2 separate regions of the Homo sapiens genome follow, and region 2 is linked to region 1. Evidence: promoter capture Hi-C in human tissues and cell types (Jung and others, 2019). All regions are on one chromosome and are shown on one strand. The core of a region is centred on a gene start or on the middle of the fragment in contact, and the rest is flanking DNA. Distances in the headings are between cores, read along the strand shown. Region 1 holds the start of OSER1 (oxidative stress responsive serine rich 1). Region 2 has its middle 8.9 kb from the start of SGK2.

Evidence for each region. Contacts are between HindIII fragments. The study calls those that stand out against the background at their distance.
Region 2: a contact is called between a fragment that was not itself captured here and the fragment with the promoter of OSER1 in region 1, in 1 of the 25 tissues and cell types used here (small bowel).

What each region holds. Positions count from the first base shown.
Region 1 is chr20:44,208,876-44,214,389 of GRCh38, reverse strand. OSER1 (oxidative stress responsive serine rich 1) reads left to right here and starts at 3,619. Exons shown (of 4, transcript NM_016470.8): 1 at 3,619-3,694. It overlaps OSER1-DT (OSER1 divergent transcript), which reads right to left and starts at 3,430. Exons shown (of 3, transcript NR_038339.2): 1 at 3,313-3,430. RefSeq lists silencers at 3,217-3,665, 3,861-3,930 and an enhancer at 3,590-4,209. The HindIII fragment of the contact is 11,638 bases long and covers 1-5,514 here.
Region 2 is chr20:43,546,966-43,553,212 of GRCh38, reverse strand. It overlaps a transcript of L3MBTL1 not described here. Among named protein-coding and RNA genes, the nearest start is that of SGK2, 8.9 kb to the left of the region's middle. The HindIII fragment of the contact is 6,762 bases long and covers 1-5,440 here.

The DNA of each region.
Region 1 (5,514 bases), core at 2,370-4,869:
AATGACAAGATGAACTGTGAGTAAACAATGCTCCAGGAGGGGAAATACATACAAAAGACCTGAGAGGGAAATATGCCTGCTGGGTTCAAATATATGCAAAGAAAGAGTGGCTGGAACAGTCCTAGGCCCTGGGCAGCCAATTTCCTCAAACCCAGTGGTATTTTCCAGGTGAAAGCAGGTATCCCTGGTCTAGCTGGGTACATACAGGAGGTGAAGGTGGGGAGGCTAAGGAAAGCAGTGTAACTCAGCGGTCAGCAGGGTGCTATAGTCAGACTGCCTAGATTGGAATCCCCGTTCTACCACTTACAAACTATGTAACCTTGGACAAGTTATCTAACTATTCTGAGCCTAGTTTCCTCAGCTGTAAAACAGACATCATAGAAGTACATTTCACAAATTGGTTATGAAGATTACATGAGCTAACATCTTGTAAATCAAGACAAATAATCATTATCACTATCTTCTATCCCAAAGTCATTTTAATTTAATTTTATTTTTTTTTTTGAGACAAGGTCTTGCTCTGTAGCCCAGGCTGGAGTGCCGTGGCATGATCTCAGCTCACTGCAACCTCCACCTCCTGGGTTCAAGGGCTTCTCATGCCTCAGCCTCCAAGTAGCTAGGATTACAGGTGTGTGCCCACCACTCCCAGCTAATTTTTGTATATTTATTTATTTATTTTTCAGTAGAGATGGGGTTTCACCATGTTAGCCAGGCTGGTCTCGAACTCTTGACTTCAGGTGATCCACCTGCCTCAGCCTCCCAAAGTGTTGGGATTACAGGCGTGAGCCACCACGCCTGGCCTACCCTAAGTCATTTAAAAAAGTATATCGAGGTAAGAAATAAATTAATTTGAGTCTTAAAACATAAGAACAGAATATTTTCCAGATTACCAACTGGTAGGATGGCAGCCACATGGTTAGGCAAATAATTTTCTTTATTACTTTGGACTTGGCTTCTCCAAAGTTATTTTTTAAGAGAAACTATTATCTTCCTATATAAATTGTTCTTGCAGTATAAATTCATGGAATTAAGTCTCTCTTACTAAAGCATGTACAAGACACTTGTAGCAAGAAAGAAGCACTGTTAGAGGAATTTTACATCTACCACAGCTTTTTAATTAAATGGCATTACCATGTGCATTAATACAAAGTTGATTTCTTCAATATAAAGTCCACACACAAATTCAGGTTTTTTTCCCATGGTTAAAAAGACTTGGAATTGCTGGTATAGGACACCGATCTGGCTTTTTGTTCACTCAGATCCATCCCATTTTGTAGCTTTTCTATCTCTTTCCAAGTCATGATGTATCACACCGTGAGCCAGTCCTATGTATAATGACTTAAAACTTCAGGCCACGTCAGGTGTGTGAGTTAACAGGCTTCAGCATTCACAAGAGGTTCCCACCTTCCAAGTACTCCCCGAGTAATGAGTCACATTCTTGGAAAGCATCTAACTCTTTATGATGGAGATGTGCTTACATAAAATGAAATACTGTAACTTTTTAGTTTTTGGTATTTAATATAATTAGGGATGGAAAGCAGGTAAAATGAGAATTCACCAAAACTGTATTGAGCATCTACTAATCCCCAGGAAGTGTGCTAAGCCCTGGGAATTCAATCACGATCCAGACAATTCTTTCCCCTCAAGGATATATGAGATTTTTTTTTTTTTTTTGAGACAGTTTTGCTCTGTTGGCCCAGGCTGGAGTGCAGTGGCGCAATCTCGGCTCACTGCAACCTCCGCCTCCCGGCTTCAGAGATTCTCCTGCCTCAGCCTCCCGGGTAGCTGGGATTATAGGTGCATGCGCCACCATGCCCAGCCAATTTTTCATATTTTTAGTAGAGAAAGGGTTTCGCCATGTTGGCCAGGCTGGTCTCAAACTCCTGACCTCAAGTGATCCACCCGCCTCGGCCTCCCAAAGTGCTGGGATTATAGGCATGAGCTACCGTGCCAGGCCTTCTCAAGGATATATGAGATTTTATCTTAAGTTATATTTTGAAGTGGCAGCTTAAAAAGACATGTTTGGTTTTGATACATTTCACTTGGCAAGGTCTGAGAAAATAAATACATCATATTTCCCGCTTTTTCTTGTCCAAGAGATGTTGAGAAGGGCAGTTTAAATCCTGACTTACTAGCACTGTGAGACAGGACAAAGGCAGCTAGAACAAGTTATCTGATCTCTAACATAATCTAATGCTATCTAACTAGCATCATTAGGTTACAATGAACAGTTTTCTTTCAACCGGTCAGTTACTGAGCCTCTGGTATGAACGACGAGAATTTAAAATGTTTTATCCAGGGCCAACATCATGCTTCATGTTTAACAACGTTATACAATAAATTGTTAGATTTCATTTACAGACATAGGCCAGGCATTCCAAAGCCTGGCTGTAGTTAAGCTGGACACAGTTAAACCATCTTCGGCAGCCTATCTAGTTGACTACAACTAAGGTATTGGGGAATGACGGTGGATGGGGCCAGTTTTGGTTCAGGGAAAAACCCTCACTCTAGGGGTGGGCCACAATCAACGCCATCCAACTCAATTGCGCAAAATCATCTGTTCTCACGAAGCTTTGAGCAGTGCAGACGTGGAGCTGGAGATTGGCAGGCGAGGAGAGGCACAGCTAGATCAGCAGAACCAGTCCTGGTGATGGAGCGGGTGGCAGCTGTTGCACAGATCACCTTTTCCCGCCTACCATCTGAGCAACATTCAGAATCAGAAAAATGTAAAGAATCCTAAAATTCATCTCCTTTGGTGAACTGCCTAAATCTTTTTGCAAAATTTGGTGTGTAGGTGCATTTCTTTGGCAAGAGGATCTACAGTTCTCACCAGATTCTCAAAGGAGTCTACGCCTGAAAACACGAGATTCACCGATAAGGTTCAACTTCCTCACTTACTAGATGGAAAACTGAGAGGCCCAAAGGAGGAAAAGCAGTTGCCTCAAGACAAACAGCAGAGATATCAAAACCGAAGGCATTTCAATTCAATTCTAATTCTGGCTTCACACTATTGACCCTGGCCACGTCCAATACCTCTTCACTTCTCTGCAGGACCTAAAAGATCACCAGGAGGCGAGGGCTGGTGTCCGAGTCCCGGAGAGGTCGCAGGCAGTCCAGATTCTAGCATCACAGAAACTCTGGCCAAGCGCTCAGCCGGGGATTGTCTGCCATAAAGACCCCCGCACCCTGTCCTCGCCCCCGCCCCGTGGAATTCCTCTGCATAGGTGACTCCACGTAGAGGACCGAGCGCAAGGAGATCCCGGGGCGGTGGAGGCAGAGGACTACTGTGAAGAATGACGCCTACTCACTCACCTAACAGAGAGGAGGAAGCAGGCACGCCCCAAAAGCGGGTCGGGAGCAAATCCACGCCACTGGGAGGAGGCAAACCGAAGAATAACAGGAAATTACGTAAGGCGCACGTGCTTCTGAGGGGGGCGGGTGCGGGGCGTTGGAGAGGCGCGGCCGCCGCCCTGCGTCTGCGCAGTCGTCGGCTGCCGCGCTGCCGAGTCACTGGGGTGGGAGGAGCATAAGCAGGGGGAGGGGTGCATGCCGGAGTGCGCAGGCGCAACGCGACTCCCGAGGCGCGGGCCGCCCCCTTGGCTGGTTTGGATCCGGGTCAGTCGGGTGCCGAGATTTGGGAGAGACGCTCTGAACTGACTGCCCCGCATCACCGGAGCGTCCCAGCTGCGAGGAGGTAAGTGCCCTGACGTGACGGGGAGGGGCCGCAGCACTGCGTCTCAGCTTCCACTGCCGGTCTGGCCGCGGGCGGTTTTCCCCGGGCCCGCCCGCCTTGGGTCGCGTCGTCTCCCGACGCCTCCTGCCTGGGCCGGGCCTGGGCCTCTCCGCGCCCCCTTATCTGCCGCGGCCTGTGCCTGCTGGAGCTCCGAGCTCCACGCTCTCTCCCCTTCCCGCCTTCCCGTCCTCCCGCGGTCCCCCGCCCCGTCTCGCTCCTCCGCCGTCTCCCGCCCAGCGGCAGCTTCCCCTTTTCGCCCTCCTTGGCCGCCCTTTGCCCCTTCCAGTCCTTTCTCTCTCGCCTCGGAGCCCCATTCTCTTTGGCTACCTCTTCGGCCCCACTCCTTTCTTCTCCCGCATCCCTTGTGCCTCGCTCCGACTCCAGCCTCTCGTTCTGACCCCAGGAATCTCCCGAGGAGCGCAACTTCACAGCTGGAGACCCCGGGCGGGCAGTGCCCCTGGACAGCTCCCTGCTTGGCGTTGTCCCCACACTCCAAGCCCCGTCCTACCCCTCTGGGTTCTGACTAGGAATTTTCCTCCGTTCATGTTTAACCGCGACAGGCACAGACTCTGGGTGAAAAGAAAGAACTTTGTGCTTTGGCTGCAGCGCTGCGAGTATAAAGGGATGAGTGGGTTGCACGGAGAGGTGTGAATGTGCTTTTTGTCCTGGGGGCCGATTGTTTCCTCCCGGTCTAGTTTGCCTCTTAGAGTTGCTGGGTTTGGTTTTCTTCCCCATACTCTACGCTTTCTGGTGGTCTGGGAGTTTCGAAATCTTTAATGTTGTGATGACAACGCTTACCCGCGCATCCCTTCTTGATCGTTCTTAGGTCTTCTCAGGGGCCTGGAAGTGTAGACCTAGGCTTGGGATTCAAGGAGGTCTTGGTTAAAACGGCAAGATGTAAATAAGATTGTGACGCATCCATTTTGTTGAAAGAAAAAACCAGGAATTTGGCCTTTTGATGGAGGAACTTAGAAGAACTTTGTAATTTTTGTAAGGTTGTGGAAAATCCGAGGCAAAGTTAAATTGCCTGGTGTGATTTGACTTTAACTTCGAATAGGCTTTTTAAAGTTTCATCTCTTTGGAGATTGTTCAACTTCACGAGTTCACTGCAGTGAAAACGCCAAGACTGTCTCCCACAAATTTAATATTAATGAAGAAAGGCAAGCCAATTATATCTGTTGTCCGGAGTTAGTTGTACAGCCCTTTCTTTGAATGGGGATCTGGGGATGCAGAGGAGCATAATGAGCCTTTTATAATTACAAACATGCTCTTCTCTAGCTCTTAAGGTTATGCCTAACGCTCATTTGCTCTTGGCTAAAATAACTGAGAAAAAAAGTGAGTAGTAAAAAAATGCTGGAAGTCTGAAAATGGTTTAGACAGAACTTCATTCCTGAAGTTTTAGTCTGTAGCCAGATTTTAATTCTGGCCTGTTTTGGTTTTTAGATGATAGATCTTTTAGTGTGTCAACAGGAATGTAAAGTTTGTATTAACATCTAGGGTGATCACCTGCCATGCTATTAAGTCAGCATGGTATAATTAAAAGTTACATATGTAGGTTCAGAGCCTCTTAGCACAGTGTTACATTGTAAGCTCTTGGAGGGCAGGAATGAGATTCTAGTCCTTACGGAAATGGAGTTTGGGCTTCTATCCCTAGCATTCATTCTAGTGCCATGCACGTGGTAGGAATTCTGTAAATATTTGTGAAAGAAATGAATTTCTGCCTGTAGGGTTCAGCAGTGTATACTTAAATGTGATGTGTACGTAAATGCTGACTGATTTCC
Region 2 (6,247 bases), core at 810-3,309, 660 kb after region 1:
CTCCAGCCTGGGCAACAGGGCGAGACTCTGTCTCAAAAAAAAAAAAAAAAAAATTTCAATTGGTTATGGACATATGGACTTGTTTTTAGACTCTGAATTCCATCCTATTGGTCTATTTGTCCTTATGCCAGTAACACACTGTTTTGATTATTGTGGCTTTGCATTCCAGCCTGGGCAACGAGAGCAAAACTCTGTAAAAAAAAAAAAGAAAAAGAAAAAGAAAAGAAAGAAAGAAAGAAATCGGTTTGTTCTTCAACTTTGTTATACTTTATTAAGATTGTTTGGGCTATCTGAGGCCTCATGCAATTCCATAGGAATTTAAGGATCTGTCTTTCCATTTCTGCAAGAAAAAAATAATCAGCTGAGATTTTGATAGGGATTGCATTGAATATGTAAATATCTTTGGGTAATATTGACATCTTAACAATATTAAGTCTTCCTAGCCATGAACACAGATCTCTTTCCATTTAGTTAGGTGTTCTTGAATTTCTTTCAGCAATGTTTTATTGTTTTCAGTATACAAGTTTGTTGTTTGTTTTTGATATAATTTGTTTTCTCGGTTCTCTCTTATTAGAATTTCTATTAATCATATATTTGGGCCTCCAACTAGTCCTCTGATATTTTCTTCTTTCCCATTTCTCATCTTTTCTTTTTTTTTCTTTTCTTTTTTTTTTTTTTTTTTGATGTGAAGTCTCACTCTGCCACCCAGGCTGGAGTACAGTGGTGCAATCTCGGCTCACTGCAACCTCTGCCTCCCGGGTTCAAGCAATTCTCCTGCCTCAGCCTCCTGAGTAGCTGGGATTACAGGAGCGCACCACCATGTCTGGCTAATTTTTGTATTTTTGGTAGAGACGGGGTTTCACCACGTTGGTCAGTCTGGTCTCAGACTCCTGACCTCGTGATCTGCCTGCCTTGGCCTCCCAAAGTGCTGGGATTACAGGCATGAGCCACCAGGCCCGGCCTCTCTTTTTCTTTTTATTCTGCCTACTGGGAAATGTCCTCAACTTTATCTTTTGACCCTTGTGTTGAATTTTTATCTCCATAATCCCATTTTAAATGTCCAAAAGCCTCTTCCTGTCTCTTAATGTTTCTTTTCCTTTTATTGCAGCTATGGCTAGTAGAAGATTAGCTTCTGACAAGTTGGAAGCATCAAGTCTTCCACTGTAATAGGAAAGAAACAGAATGAATGGGGGTGGGAGGAGACATGCAGATGAGACGGCAGGAAGGTGAAGGTGTTTCTTCCTATGACTTCCACTTTCTCTGTGACATGGATGGTAAGGATATCTGTCAAGACAATGGGGTAGGAGGTTTGAGAAGCATGAAAAGGGAAGTCAGAGCTAAAGCCCCCAGACCCTACGTGCTTCCTGGGTAGCCCTGAGGGTTCAGTTCACATTGAAGCCAGGGTCTACCAGTCTATCATGGCACCAATCTCGGTCAGGTAGGTTCCCAGTTGTGGTGTGGAGAGGATGCGCTCTCGGACAGCTCCATGGTTGGAGCTTCTAGACAAGTGATCTGGAACAGCAGCAGGGCAAAGAAATTAAGGATATTGACGAGAAAGCAGTTAAAGTGATCAAACACTTTAAGGTGGGAAAGGTGCCACCTTCCCACCTGCTTGTAGTCTCTGGGAAGCTTAACAAAATCTAACTGTTCAGGTTGACATTTCCCCATCTGAAAGTTTGATGTTTTCATTTTTTATTTGAGCACTGGGATAGAGCACAGTGTTGCAATCACAGCTCACTGCAGCCTCGAACTCCTGGGCTCAGGTGATCCTCCCGCCTCAGCCTCCTAAGTAACCGGGACTACAGGCATATGCCACCATAAAAAATACTTTTTTTTTTTTTTTTTTATAGAGACAGGATCTAGCTACGTTACCCAGGATGGTCTTGAACTCCTGGCCTCATGTGATCCTCCCTCCTTGGCCCTCCAAAGTGGCTAGGATTACAGGTGTGAGCCACTGTGCCCAGCTGATATTATTATTTTAAAAATTACAGGTTTCATTGAATTTTCTGCCCTTGACCATTTATCAAATGTTAAGGATCAGGCCCTTTTACACACCGATCTCTGGGAGTTCCCACTGTTTACACTTTCAGTGCAGACAGATACCCATTTATCCTTATCCTTTGTTTCTTTCCTTAAAAACTATAAGGACCCCTAACTAACAACAAAGAGAACACTTTAGTCTCTTCAGTAGTGCCACTACTGATAACCATTTTGTGTTCTCTGGATGTTTTATCATGAAAATAGAAACAGACTCTGGCTGCGTATCAGTTGTTCAAGTTTATTTATGTTGTTTTGATACACTGACAGATCACACCACATTTTGTTTGTAACTTTTTCTCCTTCAAGAGTCACCTTAGCTTAAGCCAGAAGATTCTCTTAAAGAACACATACACACATGTGCACACACAAGAGGCAAGTACAAAAATGTAACCCCACCAAAGTGCATGTGAATGAAAGTGCAAAAAAGGCTTCATTTGCAAACTCTGAGATCATTCTCTCTGCTTCAGAAAATAAACAGAAAGGTCCTAACTGCCCTAGGCCTGGGCTGATCAGGGGCTGGGCGAGGCTGCCAGGGGCCAAAATATAAGTGGCATCTGTTGCTAGGAGGGCAGAGGGCACCAGAAGTCTCTGCCAACTCCCTCCCCTCTCTGCGCTCCCAGGTCAAGGTGCAATAATATCATTTGGGGACAGAGTGGGGGTAAAGGGGCAGTAGGGCAGACAAGAGGCAGATTTCTTTCTACTTTTTAATGATTTGGTTTCTTTCCAAAGAGTTTGACGATAATGCAGAAAGTGCTGAGGCCTCAAAGTTCAGAAGCCTGGGAGCCCTTTTCTCCAAGGCCCTTGGTCCATCTTGCCTTCACCACAGGCAAGCATTAGGTGCTTGGCAGATCTGATGGCAAAGGCCCTCCCAGCCCCTCTCCTTAGAAGCTGTGAGGTCCCACAGCACCAGCCGTGAGTACTTGCTGCCTTCTCACTGCACAAAGTCAGTGAACATCTCTCATCTTTTATAGAGGAACAGACTGAGGATAAGGAGCTGATGAGTTCTGCTACCACCCAGACAACTAAGATAAAAGCAAGGCTTAGACTTGTTCTTCTTTACTCTTGGCCAAGGGGGTACCAATGTCACCCTTGTAAACCCAACCTTCGCTGTGTGGCAGGTCTTGCCTAGCTTCCTTCCAGGAAGGCTGTGCTCAAAGCTGCCTCTAAGCAGTTGAGAGGGAATGGACACCTAAAGCCCTGTGGGAGCTCAACTGTGGGAGCTGAATGGCTTCCTCAAAAAGCTGTCCAGCCCATGGCAGAGAGAGGCCCCTACTGGGTTGTGGTAGGAAATCAACAGAGCTCTGGGTTTCCCACTTCTAAGGGAAAAATAAAGCTTCAAATTTTAATGATAATAGCCCTTGGCATTTTCCCAACACTAAGCCTCACATCTGCACCCTGTCAAACACTTCTGAGAGTGCCACACACACACACACACACACACATGCACACACACACACATCACATGATTGAAGGGGTCTGGGTGAAGGCACCAGCCCCACACTCCGCAGGCCCACATCAGCACCTGGACACGGGAGGTTGGCAGTGGCTCCTCACCTCCATGTGGGGCTGGCTCCTACCAGTGGCTCTCCCCCTTCCCACCCAGGCTGGGAGGCAGGTTTGGCAGTGACTCAGTGGAAGCTGGGTTCCTATGTGGACTGAGAAGTGGAAGTCCCAGAGCCCCAGCAGGGACCCAGCTGGCAGTGCAAGACAGATGGAGAGCGGCAAGGAGGGCTTCAGGGACCCGGAGAATTCAGATAGAAAAGTTCACCTTCCTAACTCCCAACTTCAAGTCGTCTTTGTAAGACGCTGCAAGAGCTAATGGTCAACATTTAAGGGACAGGTTAAATGATGTCATGGGGGTGTGTGCTACACAGAGTGCTACATTCTCATGGCAGAAGGCCTGGCAGGCCTGGAGCCATCACCCCATGGGCAATACCTTGGCTGAGGTCCAAAGCTACAGAGAGTACAGTATTCCTAACTTCAGGCACCACTATGCCTGCTGGAGCTGCCCCTCTGGCCAAAGACCCGAGATTGTCTAACAAATCCTTATGCTGGTCTCCTAACCTAGGCTACTGGCAGGCTAGGCTTACTCCTTCCCAGACTCAACACATGAAGGGTGTATGGAAAACAGCAGTGGAACCTCAACCTCTGCCATCTATAAAACAGGCTCAAACCACCTGCTCATTCTGCTGAAACTTGGACTTGGCGTGGGACACTAAAATGCCAACTGGTCCAGAACTGGGTAAGTTCAGGAAGGCATCTTGGCTCAAAATCTCTCAATTCTGGGCAAAAGAGAGAAAGGCAGCTAGAGACTTCCAAGGGATCTTAGGAAAACATGTTTCCGAGGTTCACATATCTCAGGGGGAAGAGCCAGTGGGGTCTGGCTGGGGGCACTGCCCAGGAAACGAAGCAGCAGAATGAGGGCAGCAAAACCAGCAGACAGAAAGAGAGGAGGTACCTCCAGGAGTAAATACATTTGTGGTGGGGTCACTTCTTGGCAGGAGGAAAGGAGCCAAGGAGAGAAAAGTACACAGAGATACCAAAAAAGGGAAAGGGGCCTCAGATTGAAGGACTGCTGCTCTACTAGTCTCTCCTCCACTGCCAAGAAAAAGACCCTTTGGTAATACAATAAAAGTCCACTGGGGCTGTGGGGGCTGCCACAGTCCAACTGACTCCATGAGTAATGCCCCTGCCAGTCACGCCCTCACCAACATGCCTGGTGACGAATGAGCTCTAGGACTTGGGGCTGGGTGCCTACCCTCCCCAGGGCTCCTCAGCTCCCATGCACCCTCTAAGAAGGACCAGCCTGGTCAGATATAGGTGGAGCATGGGGACGTGTGGGGTATGAGGAATTCAGGTCAGGAAGAAAGCATCAGCTGGAGAGGGAGGCCAAGCAGGGGCTGCAGGAGGGCCCAGCCCTGGGCCAGTCACTTTAAGGTGTCATCAGCGTTTTTGAACATGAGAATGGCGTTATAGATCTTCAAGGCTGGGCCCAGCTTGACGCTCATGATCTTCACAATGTCCGCCTGTGTCAGCAAAAGGAAGGCCTCGCCGTCAATCATCTGAGGGGTTGCGGGAGGGAGGTGGAAAGTGGAGAAGGTGGAAAGGGTCACGGGGCAGGGGTGAAGGAAAGGGAGGGGTGTGCATGGGGAATGGGGGAGGGGAGTAGGAGTAAAGGATATGCGGGAGAAAGGGAAGGAGGAGAGAAGGGGAGAGAAAGGACCGGGAGAAAGGAGAAGGGAGGGAGAAAGGAAAAAAGGAAGACAGCAATGGGGACGGAGAAGGAAAGAAAGACAGCCACTGGTTTCCCCGTGTTCACACACTTGTTCTCTTTCTCTCTTTCTGCTGACTGGTCTGAGGTTTAGCATTTGTATCCGCAAAATGTCTTTTGAGTCCTCACAGACACTGGCTTTGAGAAACCTGCTCTTGTTGTCCCCACATGACCTCATTGGTCAACCTTAGTGCTGCTAACAGCAAGACAAGCAGACACTGTGTGCATTCCAACATGAGGCAGTACAAAGTACATAGTATCACCTAGGAACTAGTCTTGCCAAAAGCAGAGGGGGGCAGGGGGAGACAGAGAGACACAGAGAGAGAAACAGAGACAGTGACAGTGAGAAATTTAACCTAAGTCTAACCCAGCCTTTGGATCTAACTTTCAGTTCATGGGAAATACAGGGGATAGAGGAACAAGTTAAGTGACACCACTAGAAAGCAACAAGACAAATCCAAAAAACCACACTCTGAAAGACTTTTAAAAATGTCAATTGGCCGGGCGCGGTGGCTCACGCCTGTAATCCCAGCACTTTGGGAGGCAGAGGCGGGCGGATCATGAGGTCAGGAGATCGAGACCATCCTGGCTAACACAGTGAAACCCCGCTTCTACTAAAAATACAAAAAATTAGCTGGGCGTGGTGGCGGGCGCCTGCAGTCCCAGCTACTCGGGAGGCTGAGGCAGGAGAATGGCGTGAACCCGGGAGGCGGAGCTTGCAGTGAGCCGAGATCGCGCCACTGCACTCCAGCCTGGGCGACAGAGCGAGACTCCGTCTCAAAAAAAAAAAAAAAAAAAAGTCATTAAAAAAGGAAAAAAAGGATGGGAGGGGCTCTTCTAGAATAGAAGAAACTTAAGAGACATAAAAACCAAAACCAATTATGTAGGCCTTGTTCAGATTCTGGCTCAAAAACTGCAAAATGTATCCTGAGAACT